Linked DNA regions of Homo sapiens: region 1 is linked to region 2. The links are contacts of gene promoters, found by promoter capture Hi-C in blood cells and fetal thymus (Javierre and others, 2016). All regions are on one chromosome and are shown on one strand. The core of a region is centred on a gene start or on the middle of the fragment in contact, and the rest is flanking DNA. Distances in the headings are between cores, read along the strand shown.

Region 1 (3,533 bases), core at 368-2,867, 560 kb after region 2:
CTTTTCCTGATCTGCTTACACTCACCAGCTTCAGCTGCTCCAAATGGCTTGTAAGATTTTTTGTTTGCCCTTTGCTGTCAGTTGCCATGGGGAAGATCCATTCATTTTTTTCAGTCAACCAACATATTTTGAGCATCTGCTGCCCTACAGGATCCTAGATATGGGGGCTGCAGAGATATCCAGGAACATAAGCCTTGATTAATTGGGTCAGATCAGTGCTCAGCAGGGCTGGCAAGTGCTAGGTTTCTTTTAAGTGGCATATCTTAAAAGGTATATGTCCTAAACATAGCTTTGTGATGGCAGCATGATGGGTACAAAAGCACACACTTAAGTGTCAGTAGATCTGGGTTCAAACATTGGTGCAGTTTCTTATGGCTCGTAACTTGTTCAAACCTCAGTTTCTTCACTTCTAAAACGGTAATGATACAACCTACCTCACAGGGTTATTATGAATTAAATACTGGAGATGAGATACACAAAACGTCTTGAGTACACAGTAGCTGCCCAATATTGGCTGTAAGTATTATAAATCTACAAGCTGTGAATTAATTTTACCTCTCTGGATCCTGTTGATATTTCTAGACCATTCCACCTAGTGGGGCCATTTCCTACCTGAGTCACCCGTGGTGTCAAATAGAATGTCATGTGGCCTCCTGAGTTGGGTAGAATTGGCTGCTCATCTCAACCCCGCTACTGACTATCTCTGTGATTTACCCTTCCTCCAGCCTTAGCCTTGCTACATATAAAATCAAGACAATAATGTTTCCTATCTCACAGGGTTGTCCTGAGGATTAAATTAAGTAATTAATATAAAATGTGCCTTGTACATATTGGGCCCTAAATAAACAGTAGCTACTATTTATCCTTAAAGTACAAATGGTAGTTTCAGAGCTTCAAGGCTGATGGCTATTTATCTTACTCATACTCTTTGTTTAGCTTCATTTTTTTCCCCTAATTTCATTAGTATTTTCTTTTCTTTTTTTTTTTTTTTTTTTTTTTTTTTTTTTGAGGTGAAGTCTCACTCTGTTGCCCAGGCTGGAGTGCAATGGAGCGATCTTGGCTCACCCCAACCTCTGTCTCCTGGGTTCAAACAGTTCTCCTGCCTCAGCCTCCCGAGTAGCTGGGATTACAGGCTCCCGCCACCATGCCCAGCTATTTTTTTGTATTTTCAGTAGAGATGGGGTTTCACCCTTTTGACCAGGCTGGTCTTGAACTCCTGACCTCATGATCAACCCACCTCAGCCTCCCAAAGTGCTGGGATTACAGGTGTGAGCCACCACGCCCGGCCTCATAAGTATTTTCTAAATTTATTTACAGTCATGCCATTTAAAAGGAAAGTTGTATTCCTGTCTTTGTTAATATTTATAAGTGATTTTATTCAGCTACAAGCTTGGAATGGCATATAATTTTGTATTCTGCTTTTTTCACTTAATATTACATGGCTAATGATTTCTGTGTTTCATAAACATTATTCTGATGATGGCATGATATATTGTTGAGTACATGTACCATAATTGAATCATTTCCCTATTGCTATGCAATTAAGTTGTTTCCAATATTTTGCAATTATAATGTTTCAATGAATGAATAACTTTATGCATATAGCTTTTTGATATCTTAAGTTCAGTTTCCTAGGATGAATTTCCAGGAATAGTAATTGGGCAAATGGGATAAACATGACTCTTGAATACGTATTGTTAACATTGCTTTCCCAAAGGGCTCAACTGATTTATATTTCCGTGTTCATTATCTTTTAAACCAGCTCATTTACTCACCAAACATTTTTAAAGCCATTATCATGTGGTAGGCTTAGTAAGAAGAAAGTGACCCTAAGGGAGAAGCTTATATATAAATAGGGTCCCTGGTGTACCAAGTGCTGATACAGACACAAAGTACCTGGGGAAATTGAGATGAGGGAGTCCTGGCTCAGCTGGGAGAAAAGTTCATTTTCATAGAGTCATGGTTTTGTTCTTTGGCAGAAAGAAAATTGCTTTCTTCCCCACCCCCACCCCCAGCTTTATTGAGGTATAATTGACAAATAAAAATTGTATATCTTTAAGATATGCAATGTGATATATATGTATATCTCAACTTAAAAAATAAGCTACAGAATAAAAAGGTGTTTGCTATTAAAAAAAAAGAAAAGGCTGAATGTCATTCCCAAGCTTGGAAATTTGAGTATGTTGCCTCTTTGGGATTATTTACAGAAATATTAGCAAGACCAGCCCCATCTTTGGTCTTGAGTACTCCACTGTCAGCATGCTTTCTTCCAGAGAGGGATCCATTTGCCTTTATTTTTCATTCTGTTGTGCCGTCTATGCAAACTATTCTTGATAGTTTTATGGTAACAGTGTTTTTTTGTTCCATGAGATAATTTATACATGCTCATTGTGGAAAATTTAGAAAAGACAGGAAAGTATTAAAAACATCACTTTTTTTTTTTTTTTTTTTTTTTTTTTTTTAAGAGACAGAGTCTTGCTCTGTCGCCCAGGCCGGAGTGCAGTGGCGTGATCTCAGCTCACAGCAACCTCCGCTTCCCAGGTTTAAGTGATTCTCCTGCCTCAGCCTCCCAAGTAGCTGGGAGTACAGGCATGCACCACCACGCCCGGCTAATTTTGTATTTTTAGTAGAGATGGGGTTTCACCATGTTGGCCAGGCTGGTCTCAAACTCCTGACCTCAGGTGATCCGCCTGCCTTGGCCTCGCAAAGTTCTGGGATTATAGGCAGGAGCCACTGCGCCAGCCACACCTACGTTCTTATCATCCTAGTACATCCACTGTCATTATCTTGCTGTATTTCCTTCTGCCCAGTCTCACTCTGATCATGCAGTGGCGTGATCATGCAGTGATCTCGGCTCACTGCAACCTAGGCCTTCTGGGTTCGAGTGATTCTCCTGCCTTAGCCTCCTGGGTTCAAGTGATTCTCTTGCCTTGGCCTCCCAAGTAGCTGGGATTACAGGCATACACCCCCATGCCCATCTAATTTTTGTATTTTTAGTAGACACAGCGTTTCACTAAAATTTTGTATTTTTAGTAGAGATGGGGTTTCACCATGTTGGCCAGGCTGGTCTCCAACTCCTGACCTCAGGTGATCCGCCTGCCTTGGCCTCACAAAGTGATTACAGGCATGAGCCACTGCATCCATCGCCAAAAAGATTTTTTAAAAGAGTTTAATGTAGAACCATATCAAAGGTCTTTGGAAATAAAAAACAGTTTTTTAAAAATATCAGAAATAAAACAACAAATAAATAAATAAATAAAAACACCCAAAACAATCTGAAGCACGAGCACCTAGCAGAAAGGTTCAATTATGATCTATTCATAGAGTGGAATATCAAGTAGACATTACAGGACATGTTTTAAGATTATATTTTATGTCATGGGAAATGCTCTCCCAGTATGATGTTAAATGAAAAAACAGAATACAAAAGTATATATGCTGCATAGTCTCAATATTGTAGAGAAAAAATATTATTTATGTATGCATGAAAAAAGACAAAAGATGTTAACAGAGATCCATTGTTACTTCAGTTT
Region 2 (3,962 bases), core at 460-2,959:
GATGATCAATATTAAAACACATTTTTTTGTATTTTATGGGACACAGTATTTTAGTGGTCATACTTTGTAAACTTTAAAATGCTGTGTTTTCAGAACAAACTATTTTATCAGATTTTTACTATGACACTATAAAATACTCTTACTTCTACTGCATAGATGAGGAAACAGATTAATCACAGTTAAGTGACTTGCTCCTTATCACAGAGCTAGTAAATAGCATCCTGGAACCCATGTCTCCGGACTTTGCTCCTTCACTTGACCTCTGCTAATGTCCATTCAAATATCATTTCTTTTATCTAATAAGCTGAGAGATGTTTTACAAATTTAGGCAGAGACAATATTTTAAACCTATACATACTCAAAATACACAAAATCTAATTTTTAAAAAATGCCTTAAGAATAGTCATGCATTCCAAGGTGAGTTTCAAGACCAACACATACAATGAAATCATATGCATATTTGTTAAATACTGTAATAGTCAATGCTCAACACATCATTATTCTCTCATGCCCTCAGTGAAGTGATCCTCAAGAAGGTGAATGTAGACAAAATTGTAGAAAACGTTGTTCTAAGTCTTTCCCGTGCTTTCTAATAATAGAAAAGAATAGTCTCTTAGATATGTCTTTGTTTTCCCTGCTACATTATTAATACTCCTTGTTTTTTCTTTCCTACCCTGTACTATATTTCAATTACGTTATAGTCTAACAAAGAGAACAGGGTGGTTATTTTCATATGGAGATTATGACTGAATAATTCACTTCTAACTGTATTCAAGACATTGGCTTTGTTCTCCAAATACTTCTGAATTGAACCTTTACGATTATATAACCTTTCCTCAACTGTTCGGAAAGTATAAAACATTCCACAACGACCCCTAAGTAACTGTGCCCAGCAACACCAACTGGTCAGAGAGTGGGAAGGCTGCCCTAACAATTGAAGTCTTTTCCCTCCATTCAACGAACACTAAACACTAAGATCTACTTAGGAAAAGTCATGGGAAGGGGAGCGGTGGGCGGTACAAAGGAGATTCGGTCCCTGACCTAAAGAGCGTGGTGCTGAGACGAGACTTGGTCGAGGAGAAAGCCCCAGCTTTCGGCGTCAGCAGGGAGACACCAAAAAGGCTGTGCCTCGGTTTCCTCACCTGCTGAGGAGGGATACACCCCCACCAGCACGCTCGCAGTCTGCAGGCATGAAAACCGGCCTAAAGCGCTGCAGAGTGGCTGATTTTAAAAGGGGGATGGCTCCGTTTCTCCTCCAGAGTCAGGGCCCCGGACAGCGCGCAGAGCAGAGGCCAGCCCGAGTCACCGGGCGCGGTCCCCGCATCCGTGTGGGCGCCTCTTAGCTCCCGCCCAGAGAGCGGCCGGGCGGCCTTGCCCTCCGCAGCAGCAGCCCGGACGCCCGGCCAGGCCCACCCCGCGCACCCACAGCCCACGGGCCCAGGCGCCCCGCCCACCCTGTGCCGGCCCGGCTTGTCTCGGTAGCCCCGGGCTCCCCTCCCCCGCTTACTTTCTGGGAGTCCATGGCGAGTGGCTAAGCCCACTGGGCTCGAACCCGAGACGACGAACCGTGTGAGGAGGCTCAGCGAGATCGCACACCCCAAGACCGCTACTCACTGCACTGCCCCAGCCCGCACCGGCACCGCCCGGCCCCACCCGTCCGCGCCCAGACCGCGCGCGCCGTAGTCACGCCGCGGTTGCCAGGGTGAAAGGGCGGCCCGCAGAAGGGAGGGGCTGAGGAGCGCACCGCGCCTGCGCGCAGCGGCTGACTGCTCCCGGGAAGTAGCCGTGGAGGGTGGGGAGCGCCGCCCGTCTGTCTACCGCTAGTGCCTCTGCAGGCTGCACTCCCTTCCCCCATCCTTTTTCCTCCAGCGATAGCGGTCTCTCCGGCCCTGAAATAGGCCACTGGGCATCCAGCAGCCGGCCGGTGCGGAGGGCCCGGGAAGGAAAGAGTATCTGGTGCTGGAGACGGATTAGCCCACCCTCCACCCAGCACGCATCTGAAGCCCCTCCCCACACTATCCTTCGAGGGGCAGCCAGGCTTGAGCGGACCCAGCGGTCCAAAGGGAGGAAAAGGGCTGGGGTGGGGATGTAGCGAAAACGTGGGAAAAGACCTTTAGGGGATGTGGTGGAAACGTGGGAGGAGGGATATAGGGATGAGAGTGGCGGAAACGTGGGTGTGGGATTAATATGAGCTTTGGGGCCTGGCACAGTTTTTCCCGGGGACCCACCCATCCTCCCCGGCACCTCGCTACCTGTATGATTTTGAGCAAGTCAGTCTGCCTGAGCTTGTTTCATCTGTAAAATGAGAGAAATAATGCGGACTTTGCAGAGGATTGTGAGGATTAAATAACGTATGGTACATAATTAGTAGTGAATAAATTATAGTCATTCTCTTTTTTTTTTTTTTTTTTTTTTTTTGGAGATGGAGTCTCGGTCTGTCACCGAGGCTGGAGTGCAGTGGTGCCATCTTGGCTCACTGCAACCTCTGCCTCCCGGGTTCCAGGAATTCTCGTGCCTCAGCCTCATGAGTAGCTGGGATTACAGGCGCCCCCACCACACCTGGCTAATTTTTTGTACTTTTAGCGGAGACTGGTTCTAGCCATGTTGCTTAGGATGGTCTCGAACTCCTAAGCTCAGGCAGTCCGCCCACCTCAGCCTCCCAAATTGCTAGGATTACAGGTGTGGGTTACAGGGCATGTGCCAGGCCCATTATAGTCATTCTTAGTGGGGAGTTAGAACCTGCTCGGTGTGGCCTGAGGCATCAATGAAGATTTTAGAAAGCTTGGAATTTAGTAGGCTTGAGAAAGTTCTTCCTCAAGCAGACAGGCCTCATCTTCCATTTGGATGACTCTGGAGAGGCTCACAAAAGTTCAATTAGACAGTCATTTATGATGAATGAATAAAAGGGAAATACATATTGAGTACCTATTCTGTACCAGTTCTACAAACAAAATTCAGTAGTGGGCAAGGCCCTGTTTCTCTCACAGAGCTTACAATCTAGTATAGAAGACCAACCAAAAAAAAAAAAAAAGTTAACGTGCTAGACGGTTATAGGTGCTAAAATTAAAACTTAGGCCAGGCATGGTGGCTCACACCTGTAATCCCAACACTTTGGGAGGCCCAATGAGTGGATCACTTGAGTCCAGGAGTTCGAGACCAGCCTGGGCAACATGGCAAAACCCCATCTCTACAGAAATTAAAAAAAAAAAAATTAGCCAGACGTGGTGCTGCAAGCCTGTAGCCAGAGCCAATCAGGAGGCTGAAGCGGGAGGATCACTTGAGTCCTGGAGGCAGAGGTTGCAGTGAGCCTAGATCACACCACTGCACTCCAGCCTGGGCAACAGGGTGAGACCCCAGCTCCTAAATAAATAAATAAGGCAAATGGATTCAGAGAATTGGGAGGGTTTAATTTTTCATAGAAATGTCAGGGAAGATCTCTCTTGGAAATGACCTGAGTATAAAGTGAGAAGAGGAATTGTACAAGGATCTAGGGAAGAACATTCTAGAAAGTAGGAACAACAAATACAAAGGCCTTGTGGAGAGAAGGAGCTCTGTGTTTGAGAAACAGCATTTATTCTACAATGTTGTCATTACATCTCCACATGGATCCCCCTGACTGTACTGTGATTTTTTTTTTGAGGGCTGAATTTCTTTTACCCCATATCTGTATCCCCAGCTCAGAGTCTGCCACATAGTATGCACTTAATACATCCTTTTTTAACTGGACAGAGATGTACAAGAAATGAAATGAAAGTTACAAAAGGGAAAAGAAGAGCTTGGCTAAGGCTGGGTGGGTAGTGCTTAGAGAGCCAGGGTCCAGGGTGGGCCTATGTGTGCCAGCTGAAAGGAGTAGTGGCATGCAGTCCTTCAAAGAGATGCCCATCTCTTAGTACCAAGGGAAGAGAGCCTCTTATTCAACCTTTCCCAACTCCGTGAGGAATAACAAGTGCAGCCAGGCGCCA

What was found. The method cuts DNA at HindIII sites, captures the fragments that hold promoters and counts their contacts. A CHiCAGO score of 5 or more calls a contact.
Region 1: a contact is called between a fragment that was not itself captured here and the fragment with the promoter of FSD1L in region 2, in 1 of 17 cell types (total CD8 T cells). The highest score is 5.8, in total CD8 T cells.

Annotation. Positions count from the first base shown.
Region 1 is chr9:104,890,896-104,894,428 of GRCh38, reverse strand. All of the region lies in intron 2 of ABCA1 (ATP binding cassette subfamily A member 1), which reads left to right. Among named protein-coding and RNA genes, the nearest start is that of ABCA1, 35 kb to the left of the region's middle. The HindIII fragment of the contact is 452 bases long and covers 1,392-1,843 here.
Region 2 is chr9:105,445,781-105,449,742 of GRCh38, reverse strand. It overlaps FSD1L (fibronectin type III and SPRY domain containing 1 like), which reads right to left and starts at 1,709. Exons shown (of 14, transcript NM_001145313.3): 1 at 1,508-1,709. The coding sequence starts at 1,522. RefSeq lists a silencer at 1,219-1,828. The HindIII fragment of the contact is 4,464 bases long and covers 1-2,783 here.